4 separate regions of the Homo sapiens genome follow, and regions 1, 2 and 4 are each linked to region 3. Evidence: promoter capture Hi-C in human tissues and cell types (Jung and others, 2019). All regions are on one chromosome and are shown on one strand. Each heading gives the region's core, a stretch centred on a gene start or on the middle of the fragment in contact. The rest is flanking DNA. Distances are from core to core; before and after follow the strand shown. Region 1 overlaps CLIP1 (CAP-Gly domain containing linker protein 1). Region 2 overlaps CLIP1 (CAP-Gly domain containing linker protein 1). Region 3 holds the start of DENR (density regulated re-initiation and release factor). Region 4 overlaps MPHOSPH9 (M-phase phosphoprotein 9).

What was found. The method cuts DNA at HindIII sites, captures the fragments that hold promoters and counts their contacts. A contact is called where the count stands out against the background at its distance.
Region 1: a contact is called between a fragment that was not itself captured here and the fragment with the promoter of DENR in region 3, in 1 of the 25 tissues and cell types used here (liver).
Region 2: a fragment that was not itself captured here is called in contact with the fragment with the promoter of DENR in region 3 in 2 of the 25 tissues and cell types used here (lymphoblastoid cells and mesenchymal stem cells).
Region 4: a fragment that was not itself captured here is called in contact with the fragment with the promoter of DENR in region 3 in 1 of the 25 tissues and cell types used here (psoas muscle).

Annotation. Positions count from the first base shown.
Region 1 is chr12:122,359,401-122,362,100 of GRCh38, forward strand. CLIP1 (CAP-Gly domain containing linker protein 1) reads right to left here. Exons shown (of 26, transcript NM_001247997.2): 5 at 1,559-1,781. Among named protein-coding and RNA genes, the nearest start is that of CLIP1-AS1, 35 kb to the right of the region's middle. The HindIII fragment of the contact is 6,251 bases long and covers 1-2,700 here.
Region 2 is chr12:122,324,004-122,326,703 of GRCh38, forward strand. The region is part of intron 17 of CLIP1 (CAP-Gly domain containing linker protein 1); the gene reads right to left. Among named protein-coding and RNA genes, the nearest start is that of VPS33A, 59 kb to the left of the region's middle. The HindIII fragment of the contact is 8,257 bases long and covers 1-2,700 here.
Region 3 is chr12:122,751,455-122,754,154 of GRCh38, forward strand. It overlaps DENR (density regulated re-initiation and release factor), which reads left to right and starts at 1,370. Exons shown (of 8, transcript NM_003677.5): 1 at 1,370-1,496; 2 at 2,239-2,353. The coding sequence starts at 2,248. RefSeq lists enhancers at 1-727, 1,819-1,878 and a silencer at 1,629-1,678. The HindIII fragment of the contact is 19,306 bases long and covers 1-2,700 here.
Region 4 is chr12:123,167,465-123,170,164 of GRCh38, forward strand. The region is part of intron 16 of MPHOSPH9 (M-phase phosphoprotein 9); the gene reads right to left. Among named protein-coding and RNA genes, the nearest start is that of PITPNM2, 18 kb to the left of the region's middle. The HindIII fragment of the contact is 3,215 bases long and covers 1-2,700 here.

The DNA.
Region 1 (2,700 bases), core at 181-2,680, 390 kb before region 3:
GTAATAAAAATTACTCAAGAAAGAATTCCTAATCCAGAATAGACCCTCCCATGGAATTGTTCCTAGAACAGCAAAGGAGGCAAGCTGTCCCTATCAGAGTTTCTGACCCACATTAAACAAAGCTCTGTCTGAACACAGGGGTTTGGGGCTCTTCTCCATTTCATTGTTCTTGTCATGCTTTTCTCATAAAAGTAATTTTTCTGTTGAAGATGCAGGCTTCCTCTTTATGCGCAAATGGAAATGCTCTGAGCAGTACTTATTCTACCTGAACATAGAGGAAGGAAGCCTAGATGGCTGGCAGAGGAGCACAGCCCCACGTGAAGATTTCAGCACCTGTCCCTTCTCTGCCCGACGACAATGGAAGAGCAGGCACCGTGAGATCCTGGGCTAACCACCTCCTCCCCGCAGCACAACGCAACATCCTAGCTCCTGGTCTGCGGTTCCCCACCACCCAGCGGAGACCTGAACTCAGTCTGAGGAAAGTCTGATGCCGCCATTTCTAACTTAAACAGTATTTGCCCCACTTCTAGGTAATAAACTTATGGGCAGGGCTTTGACCCTAATAAAATAACACCTTAATAAACAGAATGAGGTGTTGCCTATTTTAATGCTAGTGATTCTATTTTTACTGCTCTAAACAGGAAAAAGAGGGAGAGAGGGAAAGGGACCAGGAGAAGAAGAGGAAAGAAGAGAGTAATCAAAACAGGCTTTCCTAGTATCCTCTTCCAGCTCCAAGAGTTCCCTTTAGTGTCCTCTGGCTCAAGTCAGGGACACTTCACACACTAACTGCTTCCAGTAGGTCAGGTTGTATTAACATTAAAATCCTATTAACACACCTTTTCTCAAAACACTTCACTTCCTAAAATTATTTGAAGTCAAAGAGAAAGAGAGGCTGGGAGCAGTGGCTCACGCCTGTAAATCCCAACACTTTGGAAGTCCAGGGCAAGAGGATCGCTTGAGCCTAAGAATTCGAGACCAGCCTGGGCAACACAGTGGGTCCCTCTCTCTACAAAAAAAAAAAAAAAAAAAAAATTAAATTAACCAGGCGTGGTGGTGTGCACCAGTAGTCCCAACTACTGGGGAGGCTGAGGCAGCAGGACTGCTTGAGCCTGGGACGTTGAGGCTGGGTGACAAAGTGAGACCCTGACTCAAAAGAAAAAATAAAAAAAAGAGAGAGAGGGAGAGACAGATCTATGGACTTGAAGAAAAGGATCTCTCCAATGTTCCTATCATTTTGTCCTAAAATAATTTCATAGAAAATAATTTGACCCCTGTGTTAGACTAGGCAGTAGTTATACAGATTCACCAAGAACACATGCATTTTTAAGCTTTTAAGAATCTGAAAGGGACTATTAAAAGCACTTTCTGATTTCAAAAAACGCATTCTTGCTGGAGTTACATTTTTCAAAACTTACTTGCAAAGACTTTCACAGCAAAAGCTGTGAGCAACATTCAGCACAAGGACAAGCAAAGCAGCAAAGCAGCAAAGCAGGGGCACTGACCACGGGCCTTAATCCTGCCTGGGAAGTGGAGGCAGGTAGTGAGAAAGGGGCCTTACTAGTCCTGTCCGACTGGGCCTGCTGCTCACAGAGGAGGCCACTGAGCTCATGGAGCTGAGGGAAGAGGCAGAAGGGCTGCGCTTCAGGCTGGCGGACGTGGTCGCCATCACTCGCCTCACTGCGTTGGCCTTGGCTTTGGCTGGTGTAGTGGAAGGGAAGCCAATCTTGGTAACTTTGTGGACAGGAGCGAACAAGCCATATTTGGGTTGACACTGAAAATACCTTTAGAGAACAATAAGAACAATAACAAAAAACAACTTAATCACAAGAAATAATAACTATAACCAAAAGGTTCTCCCAACTCCTAACTTACGGTTGGATTCCTGGAAATTCTACAGCTAAGCTGGGGTTACACACCAGCACGTAGCAGTCACATGTATGTAGGCTAACAACCTCAGTGATGGTTTAGAACACACACTGGTGACAATATGATACACAGAGTCAGAATTGCTCACCTGTTGCTGAGATTCTGCATAAAGGAAATAAATATTTTCACAACCTGATAAATGTACAGCAGAGGAGTTTAGCAATAGAACAAGCCCATTTAATAAAACCGTGCCAAACAAAGGGAAAGGAAATCAAACAGGCACCTAACTTTGGCAGATCCATTAAAGTAAACATGAAGAGTTGGACGTGGTGGCTCACGCCTGTAATCCCAGCACTGTGGGAGGCCGAGGCGGCAGATCACTTGAGCCCAGGAGTTCAAGACCAGCCAGGGCAATATGGACAGACCCCGTCTCTACAAAAAATACAAAAACTAGCCAGGCATGGTGGTGCAGGAGGCTCTCTTGAGCCCAAGAGGTCAAGGCTGAAGTAACCCGAGATTGCACCACTGTAGTCCAGCCTGGGTGACGGGGTGGACTCTGTCTCAAAACAAACAAATAAAAAACTCAAGTGATGGGCGCACCAAAATCTCAGATATCACTACAAAAGAAGTTATTCATATAACCAAACACCATCTGTTCCCCAAAAACCTATTGAAATAAGTAAAATGTATAATTTTTTTTTTTTTGAGACAAAGTCTCAGTCTGTTGCCCAGGCTGGAGTGCAGCGGCGCAATCTCAGCTCACCACAACCTCCGCCTCCCAGGTTCAAGCGATTCTCCTGCCTCAGCCTCCCGAGTAGCTGGGACTACAGGCAC
Region 2 (2,700 bases), core at 82-2,581, 430 kb before region 3:
GTCATTTTCCACATTTATCTTCAAGAGTTCTTCCTGTACAACATTGATTTCTTTAAGCAATTTCTCTCTCTCAACAGCCAAAGCTTCTTTATTGAGATGTTCCTGCTCATAATACTTTTCGGCATCTTGCTTTTCTTCTAAGAATTTCTCCTTTTCTAAATTAAGAGTTTCATTCACTGACCACAGTTTCTGCTGGTCTCCCTGAAGTAAAGCTATTTTGGCCTCCAATTCTACAAGCTTGGATAAAAGTGAACCGTTTTCTAACTTTAAATCATTTCCCTCCTGAGAAAGAAGCTGCTTCTCTGATTTCAGACCCCTCAGCTCTTCTGACATTAGTTCAATTTCTTTTTTGGCTGATGTTAACAAATAAGTTAGCGACTACAGAAACAAAAGATGGAAAGAATGGAAACAAAAATGAAATCAAGCAGACAAATGCAAGCCCAAATAACTTAATGTAACCTAAATGATAAAAACTTTACAATTTCTACAATAAACTTTATAGAAACTATCTGAATAACAAGGGAAAGAAACTAAACAGAGCCCATAAAAAGGTAAGTCAAAAGTGTAGTTTTGCAAAGTGCTTCTGTATCTGTTAGCTTATTTTATCTTTGAAACAACTTGTGAAATTATTCCCAGTAGCTACCTAGAAGATAAAAATAGTAGCTTGATTTTAATATCAGGGCATAAGATTCTTTCCTGCCATTCCAATTATCAAATTACTTTGAAAGCAGAAAGGATTCATAGAACAATTTTTAAAAATACAATTAAAAGAAGTACAAAAACTCAGTATATTTTAATGAAAAAAGGAAGGGGCATAACAAGGGAAAATAAACTACTGCCTTCCAAACTCACCACAGGACCTTACTTAAGGGTAGCTGAGGGGCTGAGAGTGATTTAGTCCCAATATCACATATAACTTAAAAACTACAGCCTAATTTCTAGGCTTTGCTGACTAAAAGGAATAGTTTTTTTTTTTTATTTACTGAATTATAAGATAATTTGACCACAGTGTCTATACCAGTGCTATCCAGAACTTTCTGCAATGATATAATTTTTTTTTTTTTTTTTTGAGACTGAGTCTCGCTCTATCTATTGCCCAGGCTGGAGTGCAATGGTGCGATCTTGGCTCACTGCAACCTCCGCCTCTGGGTTCAAGCTATTCTCATGCCTCAGCCTCCCAAGTAGCTGGGATTACAAGGCTCCGCCACCGTGCCCGGCTAATTTTTGTATTTTTAGTAGAGACGGGGTTTCACCATGTTGGCCAGGCTGGTCTCAAACTCCTGACCCCAAGTGATCCACCCACCTAGGCCTCCCGAAGTGCTGGGATTACAGGCATGAGCCACCACGCCCAGCTGATATAAATGTTCTTATTTGCACTCCCATCATGGTGACCATATGACTACTGAGCACCTGAAATGTGGTGAGTGCAACTGAGGAGCTAAATTTTTAATTAAAATGTAACAAATTTAAATTTATTTATTTATTTATTTATTTTGGAGGCAGAGTCTCACTCTGTGGCCCAGGCTGGAGGGAAGTGGCGCGATCTCGGCTCACTGCAACCTCTGCCTCCCAGTTTCAAGCGATCCTCTTTTAAGCATATACAAAAATAGAGAAAATAATGTAGACCGCATATATTCCCATATTAAGGTTTTTATTTTTATTTATTTTTTGAGACAGTCTCACTCTGTCACCCAGGCCAGAGTGCAGTGGCACCATCTCAGCTCACTGCAGCCTCCGCCTCCCAGGCTCAAAGGATTCTCCTGCCTCAGCCTCCTGAGTAGCTGGGACTACAGGTGTGTGCCACCACACCCAATTAATTTTTTGTATTTGTAGTAGAGACGGTCTCACGATGTTGTCCAGGGTGGTCTCAAACTCCTGTGCTCAGGCAATCTGCCCACCTTGGCCTCCCAAAGTGCTAGGATTACAGGCGTGAGCCACCAGAACTGGCTACAAATTTACATTTGAATGGCCTCACATGGCTGGTGGCTACTACATTAGGCAGCACAGCTATAGCCCACTGGCTCTTAAAAGTAGGGAATAGGAGGCTTCATGGGTTCCAGGAACCTTGTTGAGTGCACACGTAAACTTTCCTGAAAAAATATCTGTAGATTTCATTAGATTATTCCAAAGAGTCTGGGACTGATTACGATCCACTGAAATTAGATACTAGACACGTTTGGAGGGGAACAGTCCTGGCATTTTTAACTCAATGACTCTTGCACAAAACCAACCAACAAAATCAGTGAGACTGGCCAGGAATGGTGGCTCATGCCTGCAATCCCAGCACCTTGTGAGACTGGCCAGGAATGGTGGCTCACGCCTGCAACCCCAGCGCCTTGTGAGACTGGCCAGGAATGGTGGCTCACGCCTGCAACCCCAGCGCCTTGTGAGACTGGCCAGGAACGATGAATCACGCCTGCAATCCCAGCACCTTGGGAAGCTGAAGCAGGTGGATCGCTTGCATCCAGGGGTTCGAGACCAGCCTGAGCAACATAGCGAGACTCTGTCTCTACAAAAAATAAAAAATTAGCCAGGTGTAGTGGCACGTGCTTTTAGTCTCAGCTACTTGGGAAGCTGAGGCAAGGGGATCACTTGAGCCCGAGAGGTTGAGGCTGCAGTGAGCCATGACTGTGCCGCTGCACTCAGCCTGGGTGACAGAGTGAGACCTTGTCTCAAAAAAACAAACAACAACCGAGGAGA
Region 3 (2,700 bases), core at 120-2,619:
CCACGAGGCCATATTTCAGACTATCACATGAGGAGAAACCTTGGACAATACCTGGCTTTCCTAGGAAGAGGTCCCTGCGGCCTTCTGCAGTGTATTGTGTCTCTGGGTACTTGAGATTAGGGAGTGGTGATGATTCTTAAGGCGCATGCTGCCTTCAAGCATTTGTTTAACAAAGCACATCCTGCACAGCCCTTAATCCATTTAACCCTCAGTTGACACAGCACAGGTCTCAGGAAGCACAGGGTTGGTGGTAGGGTTACAGATTAACAGCATCTCAAGGCAGAAGAATTTTTCTTAGCACAGAACAAAATGGAGTCTCTTATGTCTACTTCTTTCTACACAGACACAGTAACAATCTGATCTTTCTTTTCCCCATATATTCCCATACTCTTACATTTTTCTTTTTTTCATTAAAAAAAATTGTAGGCCGGGCGCGGTGGCTCACGCCTGTAATCCCAGCACTTTGGGAGGCGGAGGCGGGAGGATCCCTTGAGTCCGGGAGTTCGAGACCAGCCTGGACAGCATAGGGAGATTCCCCCACCTCTATAAACAAATTAAAAATTAGCTGGGTGTGGTAACGCGCGCCTGTATTCCCAACTACTTGGGAGGTCGAGGCTGCAGTGAACCGTGTTTGTGCAACTGCACTCCATCCAGCCTAGGTGACAGAGTGAGACCCTGTCAAAACATAAAGAAAAGGATGAAGGAAGGGAGGGAGGAAGGAAGGAAGGGAGGGAGGAAGGAAGGAAAGAAGGAAGGAAGGGAGGGAGGGAGGGAAGGGGAAGAAAGAGACAGAAAGAAGAGAAAGAAGAAAGAAAAGAAAGAACAGAAAAGAAAGAAAAAAGAATTCCTTTAATTTAGTGTATGGTGTTAAAACGCAACCAAACGCTCCATCCGGCGAAGAGAGAGAGAAAAGAAGAGAGGAAGGAAAGAAGGAAGGGAGGGAGGGAGGGAGGGAGAACACCTTCCTTTAATTCAGTGCATGGTGTTAAAATGCGACCAAACGCTCTATCCGGCTGCAATCTCCCCGCACGGGAGTGATTTATGCAGTAGCTGGAGGTTAGTCAGGACTCCAGGATGCACCGCAGACACCGAGGCGATGATCCTCGGACTCATTAATAGGGAGTCATTTGTGACTCAGGTGCGCTCTCTGCGTCTGCAAGTCACGTTCCCTTCGGCACGCCCATCTCGAGGATTCATCCTCTCCAACGGGTGACGAGCACCGCCTGCCGGCGGCCCGCCTCTCGGCCTCTTGGCCACGCCCCCCACCGGAGGGCAAGGCGCACGCTCCGCAATTTTTCTCCGCCCCCGTCTTCCGGCTTCTCGCGACATCCGCCCAGCGGCGGCCGGAATCTCGCGATAAAGGCTCATTGTCTCGCGGGAGCGCTGCTGGCGGTCGGGCGCTCGGGCGGCCCTGGCCGGGGAGACGAGTTGCATGTGTTGGTTCAGCTGGCGATAGCGGCGGGAGCGGAGCCGGCGGGGCCTGTGCGACCGCCTGGGTAACGACCCCAAGTGCTTCTCCCGCTCCCGAGAAGCTCGTAGAGAGTGTGGGGGAAGCTGAGATGCTGCCTGGCGGAAGGGGGCCGGGCCGGGCCTCTCCACACCCCCGCCCACAAGGGCCCCTTCTGGCGTCCCCGGGGTTGCTCCTTCGCCTCAGACCTGGTCGCCCTTGTCCCCTCAGTGCTCTTACATTCTGCGCTCGTTTTCTCTCCTCATCCTTCTTACGCTCTGGTTACCCCGCCCCCTCCCATGCCCTTTTTAGACTCCCCAGGCCCCTCTCATGGCGTTTAGTTGCCCCCACACCCTGCACCCCGGGCTTCTCCGATGACCCACCCCTTGTTCCTAGGCACTTCCAGCCTCTCTCCATTCGGCGCCTTTGTAGCCCTTCTCTCACTGCAGTTTGCATCCCTCCCAGATCACCCTCAGACCTTTTTGCTCCGTGTCTGCCGTGGGTACTCACCCCATCTTTCCTTCCCCATTGCTTCCTGTTTTTCTCTAGTGAGTCCCTCTGCCCCATCCTTCATGGTCCATTTGCTGCTTGCTTCCCTGTAGACCTGTGGAGCAAGGAGATGTTGTGCCTGGGATTGCTCATATTTTATGAATCGAATGCAGCTTGTATCCCCCACTCAACAACAGACTTGAAACAGCTTTGGGGTGGGGAGGTTTCTGTTGAGAGGAACACTGCTCTTCTGGGGTCTTGATTCTAAAATAGTGAGGGTGTGTTATTTTCCTTGCTTACAGGTTTGTGAAATGGCTGCTGACATTTCTGAATCCAGCGGGGCTGACTGCAAAGGAGACCCAAGGAACAGTGCCAAGTTAGATGCCGATTACCCACTTCGAGTCCTTTATTGTGGAGGCAAGTGTTGGTAGCCACAGAATGACTTTTACTCACTATACTTTTATGCATTGTAATAACAGTTTGACATTTGGTAAGCTTTCTTCCCCATCCTTTTCATTTGGTGAGTTTGTACTGGGGGAGAGGAGTCCTGGGGAGGAGGAGGCATGAATTAACAGAGTTTCCCCACCTGGGTGATTTGTGTCTGGCTACTCTGCCTGAAGAAGCTTACAGTCCATTTGTAACAGGATGTGCAACTAGGTTATTTCAGCCTGAAGGTCCTCAAGGTGTATGCTAGTCTAGCTGTCAAAGGAGGGCTTCTTGGAAGATTATGAGTTAAGGATGGCAAGGACTGGATGAGAAGGTGG
Region 4 (2,700 bases), core at 150-2,649, 420 kb after region 3:
ACAAGGGATGTCTCCACCACTGAGCTAATGCTAATGCCTGCAACATGCTCCTGTAACCAGTGGTCTTTGTTTTAAAATAGCTTAGTGGACTGTGGACTGCCCTTTGTCTTTTAAAGTTTCCTGTGTCCCAACCCCTTTGGACATGCTTATGGTTCACCACAGCATGCGTACTCCAGCTTGCAAACCCCCAACATTTCCAAATAAATTTCTTTGGAGAGTCAGTCTCTGTCACTGATTTTAGGTTGACATGATTGATTTAAATAGTAATAGTGGCTGTTGGCAGGACTGTACTGAACAGCGCAATTCTAGACATTGCTCCCCCAGCTCATCTGAGGTTCCCACCATCATGTTAACCCCCAGTCATTCCCCAGACTTTAGAGCCTGCCTTGTTTTCTCCACACCTATGCCTGTTCTCACACTAGGCAACTTCCTGACCACTCTCTCCAGTGAGGTGACCCTCTACTCCTCAGCCAGCCACCTCAGAGGGTACTTGCTGGCTTTTGTCAAAACCAGAGAACACACTCCCCTTAAGAAACCAATACTCCAAAGACTGTGCCCCTATTCTGCCTCCCGCCCTCAAGCTTCAGCAACGTGACCTACGATCCTTGGCCTCTCCATTTTCCATTTATCAACCCCTCCTAGTCTGACTAGGTCCTCTTGATCTACCCTGAAGTCCACACTCACGATACTTTCTCTCTCACCTTTCACCACACCTGACTGGCAGCAAAATCTGAGGACTGGCTGACTACAAAGGCCGCGCTTCAGGTCTCAACTCCTACCACTGAGCTTTGCTGGAAAAAAGCCACCAGCTGGGCAGACTCATCACCACCTCAAGCGGACACCCCAAACCGCCTGACCGCCTGGCAACATGACTTTCTTTTTTTTTTTTTTTTTTGAGACGGAGTCTCGCTCTGTCACCCAGGCTGGAGTACGGTGGCGTGATCTCGGCTCACTGCAAGCTCCGCCTCCCAGGTTCAAGCGATTCTCCTGCCTCAGCCTCCCAAGTAGCTGGGACTACAGGCGCCTGCCACCACGCCCGGCTAATTTTTTTGTATTTTTAGTAGAGACGGGGTTTCACCGTGTTAGCCAGGATGGTCTCGATCTCCTGACCTCATGATCCGCCCACCTCAGCCTCCCAAAGTGCTGGGATTACAGGTGTGCGCCAACGCACCCGGCCGGCAACATGACTTTCTGTAACCAGCAAGCTTCAGTTCTCCAAACATGACTATCTCACACCCTTTCCACCCTCCTCAAACCTCCCATCCCACCTTCGTTGACAGGTGAAACTTTTGAGTCAAATTCAAAGAAACACCAGAAACCATGAAACAACTCTTGTTTTCTCTCTGTCCCCTTTCACAACCAAACATTTTAGAGGCTGCCTCTTCTATCTACATTCACTTCAACTCCAGTCACTCTTTCCCTCAGTTTTTTTTTTTTTGAGACAGAGTCTCACTCTGTCGCCCAGGCTGGAGTGCAGTGGCGCGATCTCGGCTCACGGCAAGCTCTGCCTCTTGGGTTCACACCATTCTACTGCTTCAGACTCCCGAGTAGCTGGGACTACAGGCGCCCACCACCACGCCCGGCTAATTTTTTGTGTTTTTAGTAGGGATGGGGTTTCACCATGTTATTAGCCAGGATGGTCTTGATCTGCTGACCTCGTGATCCACCCACCTTGGCCTCCCAAAGTGCTGGGATTACAGGCGTGAGCCACTGCGCCCGGCCCAGTTTTTAAATTAAGAACTATTTCAGGGCCAGGCTCAGTGGCTCATGCCTATAATCCTAGCACTTTGAGAGGCCAAGGCGGGCAGATAACGAGGTCAGGAGCTCGAGACCACCCTGGCTAACATGGTGAAACCCCGTCTCTACTAAAAATGCAAAATAAAAATTAGCCAGGTGTGGTGACGGGCACCTGTAGTCCCAGCTACTCAGGAGGCTTAGGCAGGAGAATGGCATAAGCCCAGGAGGCGGAGTTTGCAGTGAGCCGAGATTGCACCACTGCACTTCAGCCTGGGCAACAGAGCGAGACTCCGTCTTAAAAAAAAAAAAAAATCTTCAAACATTCTTGGAAAATTACAAAGAATACTATAACAAGCATCTACTCACCCATTCTCAGTTTTAATAAATGCTAAGATCTTGCCAATTTTTTTTTTTCTTGAGATGGAGTTTTCCTCTGTCACCCAGGCTGGAGTGCAGTGGCGTGATCTCAGCTCACTGCAACCTCTGCCTACCAGGTTCAAGCAATTCTCCTGCCTCAGCCTCCACAGTTGCTGGGATTACAGGGGCCCACCACTGTGCCCAGCTAATTTTTGTATTTTTAGAAGTGACGGGGTTTCACCATGTTGGCCAAACTCCTAACCTTAAGTGATCTGCCCACCTTGGCCTCCCAAAGTGCTGGGATTACAGGTGTGAGCCACGTGCCCAGCCCGATCTTGCAAAATTTGTTTTTAATTATAAGACCAATTTTTATATATTTAATTACACAGAAGGCATAATGTATTAATACACATTTTTAAATGTCTTTTTTTTTTTTTGAGACAGGGTTTTACCCTGTCCCCCAGGCTAAAGTGCAGTGGCATGATCATGGCTCAGTACAGCCTCGACCCCTCAGGCTCAAGTGATTCTCCCACCTCAGCCTCCCGAGCAGCTGGGACTACAGGCGCGTACCACCAACCACCACACCCAGCTTTTTTTTTTTTAAGA